Regions from separate parts of the Homo sapiens genome. Here regions 1, 2, 3, 4, 5 and 7 are each linked to region 6. Evidence: promoter capture Hi-C in 16 types of primary human blood cells and fetal thymus (Javierre and others, 2016). All regions are on one chromosome and are shown on one strand. Each heading gives the region's core, a stretch centred on a gene start or on the middle of the fragment in contact. The rest is flanking DNA. Distances are from core to core; before and after follow the strand shown.

What was found. The method cuts DNA at HindIII sites, captures the fragments that hold promoters and counts their contacts. A CHiCAGO score of 5 or more calls a contact.
Region 1: a contact is called between a fragment that was not itself captured here and the fragment with the promoter of ZNF583 in region 6, in 1 of 17 cell types (neutrophils). The highest score is 5.3, in neutrophils.
Region 2: a contact is called between the fragment with the promoter of ZNF749 here and the fragment with the promoter of ZNF583 in region 6, in 4 of 17 cell types (non-activated CD4 T cells, total CD8 T cells, total CD4 T cells and 1 more). The highest score is 7.6, in non-activated CD4 T cells.
Region 3: a contact is called between the fragment with the promoter of ZNF416 here and the fragment with the promoter of ZNF583 in region 6, in 7 of 17 cell types (total CD8 T cells, monocytes, total CD4 T cells and 4 more). The highest score is 8.9, in total CD8 T cells.
Region 4: a fragment that was not itself captured here is called in contact with the fragment with the promoter of ZNF583 in region 6 in 1 of 17 cell types (total CD4 T cells); the score reaches 5.2 in total CD4 T cells.
Region 5: a contact is called between a fragment that was not itself captured here and the fragment with the promoter of ZNF583 in region 6, in 1 of 17 cell types (non-activated CD4 T cells). The highest score is 6.2, in non-activated CD4 T cells.
Region 7: a contact is called between the fragment with the promoter of ZNF772 here and the fragment with the promoter of ZNF583 in region 6, in 6 of 17 cell types (naive CD4 T cells, monocytes, M1 macrophages and 3 more). The highest score is 8.0, in naive CD4 T cells.

Annotation. Positions count from the first base shown.
Region 1 is chr19:57,735,970-57,738,669 of GRCh38, forward strand. No RefSeq gene overlaps it. Among named protein-coding and RNA genes, the nearest start is that of ZNF776, 9.5 kb to the right of the region's middle. The HindIII fragment of the contact is 6,253 bases long and covers 1-2,700 here.
Region 2 is chr19:57,433,974-57,436,767 of GRCh38, forward strand. ZNF749 (zinc finger protein 749) reads left to right here and starts at 1,352. Exons shown (of 3, transcript NM_001023561.4): 1 at 1,352-1,620. The coding sequence starts at 1,606. RefSeq lists enhancers at 937-1,236, 1,867-1,916. The HindIII fragment of the contact is 4,352 bases long and covers 1-2,794 here.
Region 3 is chr19:57,577,511-57,580,210 of GRCh38, forward strand. ZNF416 (zinc finger protein 416) reads right to left here and starts at 1,401. Exons shown (of 4, transcript NM_017879.3): 1 at 1,162-1,401; 2 at 547-588. The coding sequence starts at 1,194. RefSeq lists a silencer at 1,091-1,310. The HindIII fragment of the contact is 6,514 bases long and covers 1-1,724 here.
Region 4 is chr19:57,632,924-57,635,918 of GRCh38, forward strand. ZNF211 (zinc finger protein 211) reads left to right here and starts at 245. Exons shown (of 4, transcript NM_006385.5): 1 at 245-513; 2 at 1,100-1,138; 3 at 1,706-1,832. The coding sequence starts at 424. RefSeq lists an enhancer at 5-54 and a silencer at 495-564. The HindIII fragment of the contact is 4,311 bases long and covers 1-2,995 here.
Region 5 is chr19:57,677,925-57,680,700 of GRCh38, forward strand. ZSCAN4 (zinc finger and SCAN domain containing 4) reads left to right here. Exons shown (of 5, transcript NM_152677.4): 4 at 1-155; 5 at 242-1,228. The coding sequence ends at 981. Among named protein-coding and RNA genes, the nearest start is that of ZNF551, 2.7 kb to the right of the region's middle. The HindIII fragment of the contact is 774 bases long and covers 972-1,745 here.
Region 6 is chr19:56,402,839-56,405,753 of GRCh38, forward strand. ZNF583 (zinc finger protein 583) reads left to right here and starts at 1,494. Exons shown (of 5, transcript NM_152478.3): 1 at 1,494-1,614. RefSeq lists an enhancer at 918-1,057 and a silencer at 1,518-1,727. The HindIII fragment of the contact is 8,045 bases long and covers 1-2,915 here.
Region 7 is chr19:57,476,267-57,478,966 of GRCh38, forward strand. ZNF772 (zinc finger protein 772) reads right to left here and starts at 1,300. Exons shown (of 4, transcript NM_001144068.2): 1 at 1,011-1,300; 2 at 368-406. The coding sequence starts at 1,043. RefSeq lists enhancers at 501-1,024, 615-1,814. The HindIII fragment of the contact is 1,804 bases long and covers 955-2,700 here.

The DNA.
Region 1 (2,700 bases), core at 148-2,647, 1.3 Mb after region 6:
AACCCAAAGTGAGTAGAAGAAAATAAATAGCTGGGCGCAGTAGCTCACGCCTGCAGTCCCAACACTTTGGGAGGCTGAGGCAGGTGGATCACCGGAGGTCAGGAGTTCGAGACCAGCCTGACCAATAAGGTGAAATTCCATCTCTACTAAAAATATAAAAATTAGCCAGACGTAGTGGCAGGCACCTGTAGTCCCAGCTACTCAGGAGGCTGAGACAGGAGAATTGCTTGAACCCGGGAGGTGGAGGTTGCAGTGAGCCAAGATCACGCCACTGCACTCTAGCCTGGGCAACAGAACAAGACTCTGTCTCAAAAAAAAAAAAAAAAAAAGGAAAATAAAATAATAAAGATTAGAGCAGAAATAAATGAAACTGAAACAAAGAAAACAATACAAATGTGTTCAACAAAATGATTTTTTTTGTTTGTTTGTTTTTTGTTTGTTTTTTTTGAAATGGGGTCTTGCTCTTATCACCCAGGCTGGAGTGCAATGGCAGGATCTCTGTTCACTGCAACCTCTGCCTCCTGGGTTCAAGCAATTCTCCTGCCTCAGCCTCCCAAGTAGCTGGGATTACAGGCACCCACCACCATGCCCGGCTAATTTTTGTATTTTTAATACAGACGGGGCTTTGCCATGTTGGTCAGGCTGGTCTCGAACTCCTGACCTCGTGATCTGTCCACCTCGGCCTCCCAAAGTGCTGGGATTACAGGCGTGAGCCACCACGCCCGGCCGAGAAATTGGTTTTTTGAAAAGTAAACAAAATAAAAAATCCTTTAGCCAGACTAAGAAAGATAAACCAAATAAAATAGAAGTGAGAAAGAAGACTTTACAGCCAATACTGCAGAAATTCAAAGGATCATTAGAGGCTACTATGATCAACTGTATGCCAAAAATTGGAAATTATAGAAAAAATGGACAAATTCCTAGACACATATAACTTACCAAGATGAATTATGAGGAAATCCAAAACCTGAACTGACAAATAGCAAGCAATGAGATTGAGGCTGTAATAAAAATTTTCCCAGCAAAGAAAAGCCTGGGACCCAATGGCTTCACTACTGAATTTTACCAAACATTTAAAGAACTAACCCCAATCCTACTCGAACTATTCCCAAAAATAAGAGGAGGAGAAAATACTTCTAAATTCATCATACAAGGTTGGTATTACCCTGATACTAAAATAATTTTTTTTCTATTTCCATTTCAATAAGAAATAAGAAAAAGTAAAACAAAGACATATTTGAACCTAATATATTCTTCAGTGATATCATTCCTTTACTGTAAGGAATACTTTTTTTTTCTTTTTTCTTTTTTTTTGAGATGGAGTCTTGCTCTGTCACCAGGCTGGAGTGCAGTGGTGCGATCTCGGCTCACTGCACCCTCCTCCGCCCAGGTTCAAGTGATTTCCCCTGCCTCAGCCTCCCAAGTAGCTGGGACTACAGGAGTGCGCCACCACGCCTGGCTAATTTTTTTGTATTTTAGTGGATACTGGGTTTCACCATGTTGACTAGGATGGTCTCGATGGCCTGACCCCGTGATCCGCCCGCCTCGGGCTCCCAAAGTGCTGGTATTACAGGCGTGAGCCACCACGCCTGGCCGGAGTACTTGTTTTTCAATACCACAGGAGCTATGAGCTGGTCCTCCATTTTGTATCAAAGAATGTGTCCCCAGGTGACAAGATGCAGATTCCAAGACATTGAATCAATATGATGCCACCATCGCTTTCTTTCTGTTCTATGACATCTTTCTAGTCTTACCTTACTATTTCCTTGGCTCTCAGTTGGTTTTTCCTGAGTTCTCAGAAATTGAAATAATACACACTTTGTAGAAATAAGAATTTCATGTTAGTCAAGTCTCTAGGATAGCCATGGGCTCCACTTAATTATCTCAGAACTTACAGCCCCATGTCCTCTGCTCACTATCCATTGAGATTTATGTGTTCTCAGACTTCACAGAAACTTTTCTAGCTACTTATGTCATTCTCAGTGGTAACTTCATTTATCCACAATATTAACTAATTTTCTCAGTCCAAGCTGTTTTCCAGAGGTAATCTCCAGTCCCCATGCCGAAACTATCATTGTACTTACTGCTGAAATGATAGTTCCTTCCCAGCAAGAAGGTGAGATTATTGTACCCAGAATCTTTTCTCAGGGTTCAAATATCCACTTTCCCCATGGCAGGAATGCTGACACTCCAGCCACGGTTTTGTAAATGTGAATTAGTAAATACCAACTATTCCCAGGTGAGTGTTGTGGGCAGCAAGCTACCCAGGTGCTGAGGCAAGAGACCGAGGGCATGAGCCATTCCAGTATAATAAAATATATAAAACAACAAGAGTTATACTAGATCTAGATCATAGATGTAATTATATATGAATATCATTAATCATTAGTTTGTAGCAATTACTCTTTATTCCAGTATTATAATAATACTCGCTCTATAATCATAACCTAGAAAAAACCAGGCCATACAGAGATAGGAGCTGAGGGGACACAGTGAGAAGTGACCAGAAGACAAGAGTGCGAGCCTTCTGTTATGTCCAGACAGGGCCACCAGAGGGCTCCTTGGTCTAGCGGTGATGCCAGCATCTGGGAAGTCTGGTCTAGCGGTAGCCTTAGTGTCAAGGAAAAACAACCGCTACTTAGCGGACCGGGAAAGGGAGTCTCCCTTTTCCCCGGGGGGAGTTTAGAGAAGACTCTGCTC
Region 2 (2,794 bases), core at 102-2,601, 1.0 Mb after region 6:
AGCTGCTCTAGAGGCTGAGGTGGGAAGATAGCTTTAGCTCAGGAGCTGAGGCCTTATCATAAGGCCTTATAAGACTACCTGGAGGCTTCATCTGCATGATATAACCTTGGTCTTCACAACCCCTTGTCTTTTTTTGTTTTTGAGACGGAGTTTCGCTCTTGTTGCACGGGCTGGAGTACAATGGCGAGATCTCGGCTCACCGTAACCTCCGCCTCCCGGGTTCAAGCGATTCTCCTGCCTCAGCCTCCCGAGTAGCTGGCATTACAGGCATGTGCCACCATGCCCGTCTAATTTTGTATTTTTAGTAGAGATGGGGTTTCTACATGTTGGTCAGGCTGGTCTCGAACTCCCAACCTCAGGTGATCCGCCCACCTCGGCCTCCCAAAGTGCTGGGATTACAGGCGTGAGATACCACGCCCGGCCCACAACCCCTTAACCCAGACAACCATTTCTACTGATTCCAGGTCTTTAGATACAAACTCTTTCAACCAATTGCCAATCGGAAAATCTTTGAACCCACCTGACCTGGAAGCCCCGCCCCTCCCTTCCAGTTGCGCCTTTCCAGAGGAATCCAATGTACATTTTACATGTATTGATTGATGTCTTACGTCTTCCTAAATTGTTAAAACCAAGCTGTAGATGGGCCACCCTGGGCATATGTTCTTAGGATATCTTGGAGCCGTGTCATGGGCCATTAGTCACTCATATTTGTCTCAGAATAAATCTCTTCAACTATTTCACAAAGTTCCACCCTTTTCGTCGACAGAAAGATATTCCTCCTTCAACTCTCCATCACATCCTGTGTGGGTCTTTTCTTTCTTGTCCCAACAGAAGCACACTAACGATCAAAAAAAAGTCTCCAGAGCCTCAGTATGTGTGTACTTGACAAGCACAAAAGAGCTGACCGCTATGAATGGAGGACCAGTTCATTATGGTCAGCCATGTCGCTTCTGATGTTCTTCCTTTCGGGACTTGCTGTGCTTCAGAGAATCTGAAACGACAGGTCTCTGAAATATTTCTCAGACTTGTCCTAGACTGCTCTCCGGGAAAATCTGGTTACTTGCAGTTTAGGAGTCAGCAAAGCCCCTCCACGTCCTTAAGAGCCCCGGAACTGCATTTCTTAACGCTCCTCCAGGAGCCTCCAGCTTTTTTCCGTAAGGTCCGCGCGCCCAGCATTGTGAGGCGAGGCAGGCAGCAGCGTGGGAACTACATTACCCAGAAGACACTGCGGGCGACACAGGCAGCAACGTGAGAACTACATTACCCAGAAGACACTGCGGGGGCAGGGCAGCGAGTGTAGCCATTGGTCTAGCAGAGAGACGACTAATGAGGTCTCAATTGTGTGGGCGGGACTTCTGGCGGCGCCCTCATGGTTGCGTTAGCATGGCTACCTAGGGATCTGTTCACTGATTTAGAGGGTCCCAGAGCTCTGGGTCGGGACTGAGGTGAAAGAGCGGAAAAACGCGAGAAGCGGTGTTCCTTCTACACAGAGGCTAGAGTGCGGATCGGCTGAGTCGGCTGCAGGCGCCCCTGCCTCCGTCAGCGTCCAGGTGACCGCCGTTCCCGCCCCGCTCTTCCCTGGGTGGACTGGAGGAGGCCGCGCCGATGAACCTGACCGAGGTGCGTGCAGCGTCCCAGGCCGCCCCGCCCAACCCCTCCTCCCAGTGCTGAAGTCCCAAGGAGCCGCCCTGCAGGTTAGGCCCTTGTGTCTCTAAGAGAGGGGCGTTCTTGTGTGGGGTGCCCGGGACTGGGACTGCGGTGCGATGAGGCGGGGGAGCTCCCGTCGGAGACCGACACGTCTCTGGGGCTTGGAGGCACTGCAGAACGGGCGGCACTGGGGAGCCCGAGCGTCTTTGTCTCCAAGGAGCAGAGGTTGAGGCGGAGTCTCCCCTGGAAGGGCAGTGGAGCCGCAGAGAGCCATAGAGGGCTGTGCAGGGAGGACGAATGGGAGGGTCACGCCCAGAGTTAGAAGTTTAAAGTTGGGGAAAACAGGATGTTGAACGGGGGCAGGGGGACCGCTGAGGAGACCCCTTGAGTTATGGTAGGGCTGGGCCAGAGGGGTTGCAGTAGAGGGGAGATGTGATGAGACTCTGGATGGATCTCAGAGATAGGGTCAACAGGATTTCCTGCTGCATCAAACATAGCTGTGAGGGAAAGTCGGTAGTGAATGGTGTCTTCCATAGGTTTTGTTTTGGCCTGAAAAATCTGAAAGAATGGAATTAGAGATATCAGCTTAAGGAGCGGGTTTCAGACAGAAGATCCTGGGTTGGATTTTGGGCGACATCACATGGGTAGGTGGACGTAATTTCCAAAGGTGAGGGAAGGTAGCTGGCCTGGAGCTTTAAATGAGTTAGAAGTTGTGCACTTGAGAAGTTGGCCTGTGGATCAGATTGAGAAGGAAGAATCCTACATCGTTTTTTCATATGGGCTGAGGTAGGGGAGGGCTCAGATTTGGAGGAAAGACCATGGTAGGGAGGGCATCTCTGATACTCCCTGCAGAAGGGAGCAGATATGGGCTAAGAGTCTGGTCTGTTTCTGTTGAAAAAGAGGCCTGGATGGATAAGGAGTTGCCCTGGAATACAGAGACTGAGGCATGAGATAATTGTAGTCACTCCACCCTTCTAACTCAGCTGGCCCTGAGGGCCACTCTTTAGGGAACAAGATAAGGCCATGCAGCAACTGGGTCCAAAACTGGGCAGGGCTTTCTCACATCCTCCACCACAGTTAAGGGCCTCCAGCAAGCTCCCTTTACTGCATTATATGGCAGGCTGACCTGTTTGCTGAACGGACCAGT
Region 3 (2,700 bases), core at 151-2,650, 1.2 Mb after region 6:
ACACAAGTCCAGCCACCAGTAACACTCACCTGGACTACTGCAGCAGCCTTCTTCACTATCTTCCTATCTCATACCTCACACTCAGCCTGTTCTCTCAGCTTGGCCACACACAGGGAACCTGATGAGACCTGGATCAGATCACATACCTCCTCTGCCCCCAAACTGTCATTGCTCATCACACACTCCAGAAGAAACACCCGACAACTGACAGCCATTTTTTGTCTGATTCCTGCATCCCAGCTTTCAGTTCCCATGAGAAAGAAAACAGCTGTAGTTTCCTAAACCAGCTCAGCCTGACCTTCAAGCACTTGCTCATCTGGTATCTAAGCCTGAGACAACGTTCCACACCTTACTTTACTGGTTCCCAGCAATAGGAACCATTCTATACCAGCTTCCAGCCTGGATGTATGACCCTGGGACTGATGTTTGTTCAGGATTCCTAGAACCAAGGACCCAAAGAGTGCCAAGAGAAGAGTCCCAGAACACAATCTCAGAGACAAACACTGGGGTCAGCATCAGTGAGGGCCCGAAACACTCTCCACTCACCTGTGTAAAGCCCATAAGTTTAGCTTCTGCAGTCACGGGAACCTGCGGGAAGAGGAAGGCTATGAGAGGCAGGTAACTATGGTGGAAGCTCCATGGGCTGATGCCTCCTTGTTTCCCTGCGCAGCCCTGGAGCCAGGTGACTTGGTGATGACTAAATTATTATTGCTCCTCAGTTCCGTGTGACTCTTACCTGCTGTGGGACCTTGCACAAGGACTCAACTTCCCTGTGCCTCGGTGTTATCCCCCTTCCAGGCTGTTCCAACTCTGAGTAACTTTAGAAAAAATTTGAAAAGTCTAACTCAGACCATGTGCCTCGTCTGTTCACAACCACCCATGGCTCTCAGCGTCTTGAAAAGAAAGAGCCTCATTTTACCATTCGGGCGTGAACGTTACTGGCTCAATCGTCCCAGCAAGATTCACAGAAACCGGCCCCTCCGCCTGCCACACCCTCCACAGCCCACGACACCAGGCTTGTAAATGGGAGCCCCACCCGCGAGGGCCTCATAGTCCTGGACTCTAGGGTCGGGCTGCAGGGACGCAAGCAGGCGCCCCTCATGCAGGGTGTTGGATTTCCGGCGGAGAGGGCAGGTGAGGCCCGGGAGACGCAGCACTCACCGAAGTCGAATCCCTAAGCACGGCCGCCGCCATCGGATTGTGAGCGGAGCGGGGCCGGGAGCGGCGGGCGACCCGGGGCGGGAACCCAGGCACGGCTGCCACCAGCGCCAGCGACCCACCGGCTGATGCGCAGCGGGGCGACCCCCGCTCTGTGCCGGAGGCAGCGTTTCTAACTCAGGCGGCGTGGGCCGAGGTAGAGAACCACCAAAATTACCATCTCGGAGCGGTGCCGGAAGTCCCGCCTTACCGTATGCAACAAACGGAGACAGGTCCGTTCCTGAACGTTGATTGGCTCCGCGTCTTTGCAGCTTGGCGCTCGGCATTATGGGTAATGTAGTTCTCAGAAGCCCAGGGTTCCGGTGCCCTCCCTGAGATTCACCCGGAACAAGGGCTAAGCGGCCCGCGGAGGGCGCTAGGAAAAGGCGCGACACCAAGAGCGAGACAGGGACTTGCTGCTCCTTAAAGGGGCCGCTGGCCGATTTCCGCAGTCCCATACCCACTGAAGGGAGTGTCTGGGTTAAGATAAGAGGTTGTAGAGACCAAGGTTCTTATTAAGCAGATGAAGCTTTCACGCAGCAGGCTTCAGAGGGAATAGATTGTAAATGTTTCCTATCAGACTTTGAAAGGTGCCAGACTCTTAATTCTTTCCTGGACCATGAAAATAAAAAAACCCTGGAGAGGAAAGGGGATTCTCAGCAAAATGCAGATTCCACAAGACACACCTTTGCAGGGCCTCTTCAAAATATGTCAAATAAATAAAGTTTAGAGTAAAATACTTCAATTCCTTTCAGGGCCTGCTATCTGTCATGTAATGCTATACTACAATCAGGCTGGAATTCACTGTCTTATTGCTACAAGAAGTCTTAAAATCTCTGTTTTAATGTTAATGCTGGTCAGTTGTGCCTGAATTCCAAGGGGAGGAGGGCAAGTCTGACCCTCACTTCCCATCACGTCCTGAACTAGTTTTTCAGATTAACTTTGGAATGCCCTTGGCCAAGAGGAAGGATGCATTCAGATGGTTGGGGGGCTGGGAATTTTATTTTTGGTTTACACTTCTCATGCCTCTTGGAATCTCTGAACCACATACAACGGCCATTTGTTGAGTAAAAGCTTCCAATGCAGGAAACTGTCTCTTTCAGCCTCATGCTATACACCATTAAAACAGTAATTACTGGCAATAAGACTGGGCTTTCTTAAACATACAGGATCTCACAGACCATAAGCCTATGATCCTTCATACCAGCTGCCCATAATACTTTTGGTTTTGGAAGCAGCACCCCATAACCTCAGCATGGCTACCAAGGCCTCCTTAAGACAGGGTAGAATGAATAAGATCTAGTATTTGATAGCACAGTAGAGAGACTACAGTCAACAGTAATTTATTGTACATTAAAAACAACTAAAAGAGTATTATAACTAGAATGTTTGTAACACAAAGAAATGATAAATGCTTGTGTACCCTGATATGATTATTACACATTGTATGCCTGTATCACAATATCTCACGTATCCCATAAATATACATACATACTATGTACT
Region 4 (2,995 bases), core at 1-2,500, 1.2 Mb after region 6:
CTCAAACCTGTGTTGTTCAAGTGTCAACCTACTTAAGACCTCAAACACCGAAGCCCCTCAGTCGCCCTGGAAGGCAGCAGACGCAGCTTCCTAGCGCTCCCAGCTGTCTGCACACAAGGCGCCCTCCGTCGCAGCCTGGGGGAGACTACATTACCCAGAAAGCCTTGCGTCGAGCGGCAGTACTTTGATCCAATGAAAATCCAAGACAGGGGCATTTCCGTGTGGGTCTACCCCCGCCCCCCCCAGGGCGGGACTTGTGGCGTCTTCGCAGCGGTCATTTTGGCTGCCCTCCCGGAGGTCCGTTCTGTCTGTCAGCCGCTTTGGTACGCTGCATCGGGATCGAAGTGACGGACCGTGAAGGCGCGAGAGTCAGGTCTGAGGGTCGGGGGCAGAGCCGCCCGCGAGGCCGGCCTGGGGATAGCGATGCTCGGGTTCCCCCCGGGTCGCCCGCAGCTCCCGGTCCAGCTCCGCCCACAGACTCGGATGGCGACCGCACTGAGGGACCCGGCTTCGGTGAGCGCTGCGATCTCCGGGCCTCCCCCGGCCGAGATTCTTAAGTCCCAAGTGAGAGGCACCAGCTCACGTCTCTGTAGCACAGGGTCGGGGACACTGAGGCTCGTGGGTGGGGCCCCTATTTCTGACATCCGATGTGGTGGGCAGGGGGACAAGGGACAGGACCGGCGCGTGCAGGGCTTGGACGGGCAACCGAGAAGGGGGCATTCAGGAACCTGGGCTCCACATTGTTACTGCAGGGAACAAAGTTTGAGAGAGATCTACCTTTATTCTTAGGGCCGTGGGAGCCATAGAGAGCTTGCGCAAACGAGAGACACCATCTGAGTTAAATTTGAAAAATCCTCTGCAGGCTGTTCAGTGGAAGAAAAGACTTTAGAGATGGATGAGGACGTTGAGGCAGAGGGAGGTTGAATATTTTTCCAAGGCCACACAACTGGTGAGAGGCAGCACTAAGGACCGAGGCGCACAGGTTAGACAGTCGACCCAAAGTTACGTGGCTCTGGGCCGGGGCAAGGGTACAGGGAAGGCCTGTGCCCATGGAGCACTGCCATGATCACATTCCTCTGAGGCCTGCGTCTTTCCACAGGTTCCCATAGCTACAGAGGTGCTTTTCAAACTTACACAGGTAAGTGGAGGTATCTCAGCCCCTCACTGGTCTGGAATGTCCCTCCACCCTCCCCAGACAGATATTTTCTTTAGATTTGTGGTGTCATGGGACTCACCTACCATTCTCTCAGCGTTTGGTTTGGGAACCCTGGAGAATCCCTGAGCTAAGGGCCCTGAGTCCAGGCCAATGTTTCCATTTGGAGCAGCCAATGGAAAGATGGGTGAAAATTTATGATAGAAACAGGTAGGTACCAGCTTTTGGAACTCCTTGGAGGTGAGGCTGAGCTGGTTCAGGGAACTGCAGGTTTCCTTTATTTCTGTGAAGTTTGGCATCTATTGTGAGGAAGTTGGAGTTTGGGATCAGAGGAGGGAGATTTATCTAACCCAAGTGTTGACAGGATACAGAGTGGAAAACAGAATGAACACAGTGACTAATGGGAATGTGAAGAGACAGCAGGGATCAATGACACCAAGGTCTGGTGTCTCTTCTGACTTGGGGATCTTGGGAGGAGAATGTATGGGGACATGGATTTTGAGTCTTCCAAATTGAGACTGTTCATGGTTTCATCAATCCCTATTATGCTAGGGAAGTGTGACCTTTGAAGATGTGGCCGTGTACTTCTCCTGGGAGGAATGGGATCTCCTTGATGAGGCTCAGAAACACCTGTACTTCGATGTGATGCTGGAGAACTTTGCACTTACGTCCTCCCTGGGTAAGGCCCTCATACTCACCCTTGTGCCCTGGACTAGGCTCTCTGTTTCTCCTTTTCCTCAGGAGCAGCTCTGTCCTCATATCTGGACTATAGGCACTGCCTCCTTCCCCAGTTCCCTGGGTAGATGTTGTGGACTGAGTGCAAGCCTACTTCCCTTATCGTCCCAGCCCAAAAGCATCTTGGGTAAGGATTTGGGATCAGTAGTCTTACAGTAAGCCTAATAGATCCCACCTGACTTGCCTTCTCCCTGTCTGGTGACTTTCTAGATCTATGGCACCCAGTTTTCCCTCCCTTCGTGTACCTAACATTTATTTGTGCTAGACTGTGACATGAAATGTAGTCACTGACATTGCCACTATTTACACAGACTGTTCTTCAACCACCAACCTTTCCATTAACAGCAGAACACTCTAACAAATTGTGCCGCAGAGACATTACACAGACTGTTCTTATAGAAACCTCCTTCAAGGTGTTTTTCTTTGTTTTTAATTGTAAAATATATATAACAAAATTTACCATTTTAATCATTTTCAAGTATATAGTTCAGCGCATTTAGTACATTCGCATTATTGTGCAACCATCACCACCATCCTTCTATAGTACTTTTTCATCTTATAAAACTGAAACTTTGTACTCATTAAATAATAACTCTTCCCATCCCCTGGCAACCACCATTTTACTTTTGGTCTGTATGAATTTGTCTACTGTAAGTACCTCATATGAGTGGGATCACACAATATTTGTTCTTTTCTATCTGGCTTACTTCACTTAGCATAATATCTTCAAGATTCATCCATGTTGTAATATATATCAGAATTGCTTCTTTTTAAGGCTGAATAATATTCTTTTGTATGTATTACAGTTTGTTTATCCATTCCTTCATCAGTGGACACAGGTTGTTTTCACCTTCTGGCTGTTGTGAATAATATTACTGTGAACATGGGTGTACAGATACGTATTTGTGTCCTTGCTTTCAATTCTTTTGGGTATTGGCCCAAAAGTAGAATTTCTGGATCATAAGGTAATTATTTTTAATTTTTAAGGAACCACTAAAATTGTTTTTCATAGCAGCTGCACCATTTTACATTCCCACAAGCAGCTGACAAAGGTTCCAGTTTCTTCACACCCTCACCATCACTTGTTATTTTCTGATTTTTTTGATA
Region 5 (2,776 bases), core at 109-2,608, 1.3 Mb after region 6:
CATGCAGGGACAGGAAGCTCTCTTTTCTGAGGATATGCCCTTAAGAGATGTCATTGTTCATCTCACAAAACAAGTGAATGCCCAAACCACAAGAGAAGCAAACATGGGGACACCCTCCCAGACTTCCCAAGATACTTCCTTAGAAACAGGACAAGGTAAGTCAGGTGAATCTGCACAACTGAGGAGTGTTCTATGTGGACCCCTTCTTAAGTACAACTTCATTGAGTGTCTATTTTCACAGGATATGAAGATGAACAAGATGGCTGGAACAGTTCTTCGAAAACTACTCGAGTAAATGAAAATATTACTAATCAAGGCAATCAAATAGTTTCCCTAATCATCATCCAGGAAGAGAACGGTCCTAGGCCTGAAGAGGGAGGTGTTTCTTCTGACAACCCATACAACTCAAAAAGAGCAGAGCTAGTCACTGCTAGATCTCAGGAAGGGTCCATAAATGGAATCACTTTCCAAGGTGTCCCTATGGTGATGGGAGCAGGGTGTATCTCTCAACCAGAGCAGTCCTCCCCTGAGTCTGCCCTTACCCACCAGAGCAATGAGGGAAATTCCACATGTGAGGTACATCAGAAAGGATCCCATGGAGTCCAAAAATCATACAAATGTGAAGAATGCCCCAAGGTCTTTAAGTATCTCTGTCACTTATTAGCTCACCAGAGAAGACACAGGAATGAGAGGCCATTTGTTTGTCCCGAGTGTCAAAAAGGCTTCTTCCAGATATCAGACCTACGGGTGCATCAGATAATTCACACAGGAAAGAAGCCTTTCACATGCAGCATGTGTAAAAAGTCCTTCAGCCACAAAACCAACCTGCGGTCTCATGAGAGAATCCACACAGGAGAAAAGCCTTATACATGTCCCTTTTGTAAGACAAGCTACCGCCAGTCATCCACATACCACCGCCATATGAGGACTCATGAGAAAATTACCCTGCCAAGTGTTCCCTCCACACCAGAAGCTTCCTAAGCTGCTGGTCTGATAATGTGTATAAATATGTATGCAAGTATGTATATTCCTATAGTATTTATCTACTTAGGATATAAGATATAATCTCCTGATTATGCTTTCAATTTATTGTCTTGCTTCATTAAAATGTAAGGCTAAGGAGAGCATGGAATTTGTCAGTTTTGTTCACTAAAGTATTCCAAGTGGTTGGGAAAGTGGAACATTTCCAAGAACCAATAAATTTCTGTTGAATAAATGAATGAATCCATAATGTTGATATCCTTTTTTAAAAAAAGAGATGGGGCCGGCCGCAGTGGTTCGGCCTCCCAAAGTGCTGGGATTACAAGCGTGAGTGACCGTGCCCGGCTTTTTTTTTTTTTTCTGAGTCAGAGTCTTGATCTGTCGCTCAGACTGGAGTGCCGTGGTGTGATCTTGGCTCACTGCAACCTCCACTTGGAGGTCCAAAATTAATCATAGACACCAAACCACAGATCCAGAAATCTCAGAGAAGAGGAAGCAGTGTAAATACCAAAAACCTACAACTAGGTACATCATATTCAAACTACAGAAGGCCAAAGATAGAGAAATTCTTGAAAGAAGATGGAGGTGGGAGAGGGCACTTTACCTGCTGAGGAACAAGGATGAGATTTAGAGTAGAATTCTTGTCAGAAACCAGATAATCAAGAAGGGAATGGAGTGAAAGTTCAAAATTTAGTACAAAAAATAAAACCCCACCCTAACATCTATATCCAGCAATGTTATCTTTCAAAGGTGGAGGAGAATAAAGCTTTTCTCACACAAATACTAAAGAATTCATCCCCAAAGGTCCTGTTACAGGGTCCCTGCATTACATGTGAAGCAATCCAGTAGTTATTTGAAGGTCGAATTAGATTAAAGATGTTTAGGCTGGGCACAGTGTCTCATGCCTGTAATCCCAGCACTTTGTCAGGCTGAGGCGGGCAGATCACTTGAGTCCAGGAGTTTGAGACCAGCCTGAGCACCAAGGCAAAACCTCATCTGTACAAAAAATACAAAAAAACAATTAGCTAGGTTTGGCGACATGCGCCTGTAATCCCAGCTATTTGGGAGGCTGAGATGAGAGGATCACTTGAACCTGGGAGGCAGAGGTTGCAGTGAGCTGAGAACAGACCACCGCACTCCAGCCTGGGTGACAGGCTCAAAAAAATTTTAAAAAGATGTTTATTGTAACTTCTAAGGGAGGAATTAATATTTTTTTTTTTTTTTGCTGGCAACTTTGATTAATTTAAACATACAAAAATTAGCTGGGCATGGTGGTGTATGCTTGTAACCCCAGCTACTCAGGAGGCTGAGGCAGGAGAATCGCTTGAACCCGGGAGGCAGAGGTTGCAGTGAGCTGAGATCGCGCCACTGCACTCCACCCTGGGAGACAGAGCAAGACACTGTCTCAAGAACAAAAACAAAAAAGCCCAGGCGCAGTGGCTCACCTGAGGTCAGGAGTTCAAGACCAGCCTGGCCAACATGGTAAAACCCTCGCTCTACTGAAAATACAGAAATTAGCCGGGCATGGTGCTGGCGCCTGTAGTGCCAGCCACTTGGGAGGCTGAGGCAGAAGAATTGCTTGAACCTGGGAGGTGGAACTTGTGGTGAGCCAAGATCAAGCCATTGCACTCTAGCCTGGGCAACAGAGTGAGACTCCGTCTGGGAAAAAAAAAAAAAAAAAGAACTGATAAACAAATTCACCTGTGTAGCTGAATTCAAAGTCAACATGCAAAAGTCAACATGTAAAACTCATATGCCCTTCCATACACTAACAATGAAAAATCTGAAAAGGAAA
Region 6 (2,915 bases), core at 244-2,743:
CTTCTAAAATCCTTAGAAACTACAAAGTAACAGTAAAAACTCATTTTGTATGCTAATGAGTTGACAGCTGGCAACCCCTATAGAGTTTCAGGATGGGGACTGGTTATGGAAAGACCAAGACATGACTAGAAGGTTGGGACATTCAACCCCACCCCCAACCCTAAGGAGGGGACGGGATTTTAATCAACCATGCCTATGTAATGAAGCCTCTGTAAAACTCCCAAAAGACAGGGTTTAGAGAGCTTCCACCCAGCTGAACATGTGGAGGTTACTGGAAGGTGCAACACCCTTTTTTCTGTACTTTGCCCTACGCATCTCTTCATCTATATCATTTGTAATATCCTTTATAATAAACTAGTAAACATAAGTGTTTCCTGAGTTCCGTGAGCCACTCTAGCAAAATATCGAACCGCAAAGAGGGGGTGGTGAAAATCCCAATTTGAAGGTGGTGGAGTCAGATGTTCCAGAGGCTAGACTTTAGTGGGAAGTGGGAAGGGGGAGGCAGGCTTGGGGACTGAGCCCTCAGCGAATGGTGTCTGACCCATCTCCAAGTAGACGGCGTCGGAATTAAACTGGAGGACACCCAGCTGGTGCCCGCTGCAGAACTCACTGAACTCATTGCTTGCTTGAGATGTGTGGGAAACTCCCCTATATTTGGTCAGAAAAGTCTTCTGTTATGATTAGTTGTCGTTGAGATAATAGAAAAAAATGCACCTTGCGTTTTTTCCACTGATTCAGAGGGCATAACTGAAAGAATGAAGAACTGAAAGAATGATCTTAATACTCTGCTTCGCTTTTCTTGATAATACGCATTACTTCCCAATATGCATCAGTGTCCTTTATTATTAATTTTTTCCTATTGAATTCCTCCCGCATTAGAATGCTGCTCCATGAGGTGGGGATTTTGTCTGCTTGTTCACTGCTGTGTGCCCAGGGCCCACGACAGTGCCCGATACAGCAGGCGCTCAATAAGTGGCGAATGAAAGACAGGGCAAGGCGGAGAGAGAAGAAACAGAAAGGGAAAGAGAAAGCCCGGGCCGCCAGAGCGCTTAATCACACGTACATCCTACCGGGCCCCTCTCCAGCTGGCTCAGGCTCCACACTGGTCCTCCAGCTCCCTTTTCTCAGCGATGGACTCACAGCCCCACCCGGAGCGCTGGAGCGCGGACGCGGTCACTGCGCGTGCGCCTCACCGCGCTGGCACCCCGGCCTGGCAGCCTTTGGGGACCTGAACCAGCTGCGCCTGCGCAGGTGGAACGGGTGGAACGGGTGGGGGAGCGGACAGTCGAACGGCCTGAGAGGGCTCAGCTGGTCCGGGTGGGATTCTGAAGGCCAGCGGAGGTGGGCTTACTAGGGAAAGGGGCGCAGCAGTAACTACCCGCAACTGAGCGGCGGGATCTGCGGCCGCCCGGGGCCCTCGGCCAACATCCCAGCATCCTCTGCGCCGCGCCGGCCCCGGACTCCATTTCCCAGCGGCCCCTGCGGCCTGCCCTAGGGCTGCGGCGCCTTTGTGAGCGCGGCCGCCGGCCAGGATCGAGCCCTGGCCCGGGCCCTGGCCCAGCCCCGGCCTCCAAGGACCGCGCCGAAGGAGGTGCCCACTGGAGGGAGGAGGCGGTGAGGAGCGCGGGATGGAGCTGACGCCGGGAGCGGCCATGCCACCATGTGTGGGACCGTGTGTGACAGTGTGTGAGAATGTGTGAGACATTAAGGAACCGTGTGTGACAATGTGTTTGACAGTGTGGAATCGTGTGTGAGACCATGTGTGACTGTGTGAGAATTTGAGACCGTGTGTGACAGTGTGAGAATGTGAGGCCGTGTGTGAATATGTGTGTCAGTGTGAGACCATGTGGGACAAATGTGGGACTATGTGTGACAGTATGAGACTGGGTGTGAGAATGTGTGCGACAGTATGAGACCGTTGCCCCGGTGTATGCGGGAGCCTTTGACAGTATATGGGACCGTGTGGGACTGTGTGACACTGTATGTGCTTAAGACCACGTCACCATGTGTGAGACTGGGAATGTGTGACAGTGTTAAACTGTCATTATGTGTAGACCACGTGTGAACAGTGTGTAAGACCATGTCACTGTGTGTGTGACCTGTGTGTGTGGGATAATGTAAGACTGTGTGACAGTGTGTGTGACTTTGTGAACAGAGCTTGACCGTGTGTGTAGGATTAGATGAGACTGTGACAGTATGTGAGACCATGTCACCGTGTGTGAGGCTATGTGTGGTTGTGTACGGTGTGTGGCTGTTGATATGGGACCACATGAAACTGCGACAGAATTTGTGTGACAGTGTGTGAGACTGTGTCACTGTATGTGAAACTGTATGTGAACAGAGTTTTTGTTGTTGGACTAAGATTGTATGTGACAGTGTTTGAGATTGTGCATGACAGTGTGTGTGATTATGTGAGACTGAGGGAGATGGTGTGACTTAGCACTGTATGTCATCCCGACAGTGAGTGTGACAGTGTGACTGAGAATGGCCTTATATGACCCATTGTGAGAGCAGGGCGGGCTACAATGTGGGGGCATGTCCATAGGTTGCCAGGGGAGGTGCCAGAATGAGAAACTATGTGGTTTGTTGTCTGTGATTTGTGTGGGCAGGAAGCTGTGTGGGTGCTTGGAGATGCTGGTGTGCTCTGGGGTTTGGGAGACTGCTGTTGTGGTGGAGAGACAGAAAGATTGAGATAAAGGGGAAAAGATGGAGAAAGGGAGGGACGAGAGCTGAAAAGGGAGAGACAGACAGGAGCCTCAGCCTTAAGCCTGAAAAGCTGACCACGCTGGCTGCTTGTCCTCTGGCACAGTAGTTTTTCCATCCCTCTCAGTCTCTGGGGGCACGTGAGGAATTTAAAAGGAAAAAGGAATGGGAGACCTACCATGTGCTGGTTATGAAAATAAATGACAGAAAGA
Region 7 (2,700 bases), core at 50-2,549, 1.1 Mb after region 6:
TCTACATAATCATCTTTAAGCCATTTCAGGATGATTCCCGCCCCCTTGCTCTTGGTTCCCACCAGACATGACAGAGACCTGCAATTTCTTGAAAACTCCCTTCTCAGTCTCACCTCTAAGTATTTTGCACAGGCTGGTTCCTGTGCCTGGAACAACCTTCCAACCTTATTCCAATGGTTGGCAGAAATGGAAACCCCTCCATAAAACCCCTGGCCCGGAGTCAGGACCCTGGGCTTGGGGCTTCTCCAGAGTCCTCAGACCCAAGAGATCGGAGAGTAGCAGGAGAGTGTTCTATATAACACCACAATGCTGGAGAGCGTATTGGGTGGGGGTGGGATCGGTGAGAGCATGGACATTCTCCCCTCACCTGTATAGGGTCCACAATTACTTCTGAGTTCATGGGAACCTGTGGGGAAGAGGGAGACTATGCGAGTCAAGCAATCTTGAAGGAACCCCAAAGGCTCAACCCCATCCCATATTCCTACCCAGTTACAATGTGCCTGGGAGCTGAATGTCTACCCTCTGTGCTTCCATCTTCAAGGATACCTCTTAACTGTGTTAGCTCGGAACAGTGCTCATTATCCGCCCCCATGGCCAACAAGAGTCTGCCCTCCATGAGCAGTCTATGGAATACTTTTTAAACCCTCGGATTCTGGCTCTCCTCTGTTCAGAACCTTCCATGGCTCCCATCACCCTCAGAATAGAGACCCAGCTGCTCAGGATGATATTCCAGGTGCAATCACTTATAAAGCGCTCTGATCCTTTCAGACACTAAAGGCCCAGTTTTCCCAAATGCTCCAGCTGTGAACCATCTCTGAGCCTTTGCATACACTGGTCTCTCTGCCTGGAACGTCCTTCAACTCGTGCTGTCAAAATGGGTCCCAAACACGAGCGCCCCCACTGTTCTAGATACAGGGGCCTGAGCTGCAGTAACCCGAGGAATCGTTCATTCGAAGCTTTGGGATTCAGAGATGGGGGTCAGCGCGCAGACTCGCAGACGCAGCACCCACCTGTGCCGGGCCCATCGGCTCAGCCGCCGCCATCAGGCCTGTGGACTACGGAAGGGTGGCGACAAGTGCAGGAACCTGGGATCAGCTGTCCAGGGCCCAGCCCAGCGGCTAGGTCACTCAGGCAGCGCCACTGTCAAGCCTCAGGCCCACCTCTCTTCAGGGAAGAAGACACTCTCTCACGTTTTCCCTTTTCTGTCACCTCAGGTCTGACATTGCGTTCTGGAAACTAAACCAGTGGATTAATGGAAAAGCAAACAAAATGTCCACCCGAGGATGGTAGAGGAAGTCCCGCCCTGACGTTGGTGAGGACCAACGGAAACGCCTATTTCCTGGGTTTTCATTGGCCCAGAGCCGCCAAGTTTCCTGGGTAATGTAGTTCCCACGGCACCAACACTAGTAAGCGGCGTCTCGCTTCACCTCCAGGTTAAAAGCCCAGAGAAGACCGCCAGGGGCGCGTGGAAATGGTGTCCCTCGTCTCCAAGGCCCAGACGGAGCTTAGCTTCCTCTTGAAGGAGCCATATCTGTATTTCTGGTGAACGTCGTGTTTGACATCAAAGGAATGTTTAGAGACATGATTTCAGCCTTCCTTACGCAGAGAATGCTCATCAAAAAATAAAATGGACACACCATACACTGACGTCACTCAGATTTCTATGGCTGGAAGTTAACAAATATTGTTTTCAAATGCGTGTAGCCTGATGCTCCAGAGTTAGTTTGGCGAGCCTCAGCATTTTCTGTCAGGCACAAGAAAGAAAAGACTCCAGACACCATGATGTGGAACGTGGAGTGGGGATGTTTGGTGGCCTTGAAGTAAGTGAATAACCCTTCTGTCTGTTACCTCAGAAAATATTTATCCTGCTTATACAGCAGTGATTGTGTCAAACCCAACAAGTAATACTCTTGTTCAAGATAGTATTTCATACTCCATATACAGAGATGTATTCAATATTTTAAGTGTTTTACAAGTGTCTGAAAAGACAGAATTCATCAAATGTCATATGGCAATGAAAAGGGCAACATGAACACTTTCTGTAAAGAAGAAATAACCACCAAACTAGATGTCTATACACAACAAAATGTCTTTTATGGAAGTGTGATATAAAACTATTTGAAACCAAAAATGATAAATGTAATGGAAATACATTTACACAAAAAATAATGTTTAAAATAATACTCAAGGCCAAAGAAAGTTGATCTCAGGTGAAAAGTCTGCAATGAGAGAAGAAATGAAGATGAAAAGAAGTGCATCTTTTGATTAAAATAACAGCATATTACAGTGTAAAACATAAGTAGATATACTTATTGAGTTAGAATGATGGAATTCCCGTGCGTAACCTCAACTACATATAAATTGAAAGGAGGCTAGTTGCTCAAAGTTTTAAATTTTTTATATTTCCAAGTGGAAAGCAAATGTATTACAATCCTGTATGGCACGCTAATGTGTTAAACGTTTGTAATTTTTAGCCTAAATATAATAAATACAGTCAGCGTATATACTTTTCAAACTAGAAGAGGAAATGTTTGGAATATAAATAAATAATCAATAGAAAGGTAAAATAATAGTAAAATAAGTGGAAGAAGTGAGGCAAAGAAAAGCACAATGTAGGATATATTTAAACTGTCAACCTAAATAACAGAGATTCTTCAAAGATGTTGAGTTCATTCAGGAATGCACAGGGGATTTGCAAAT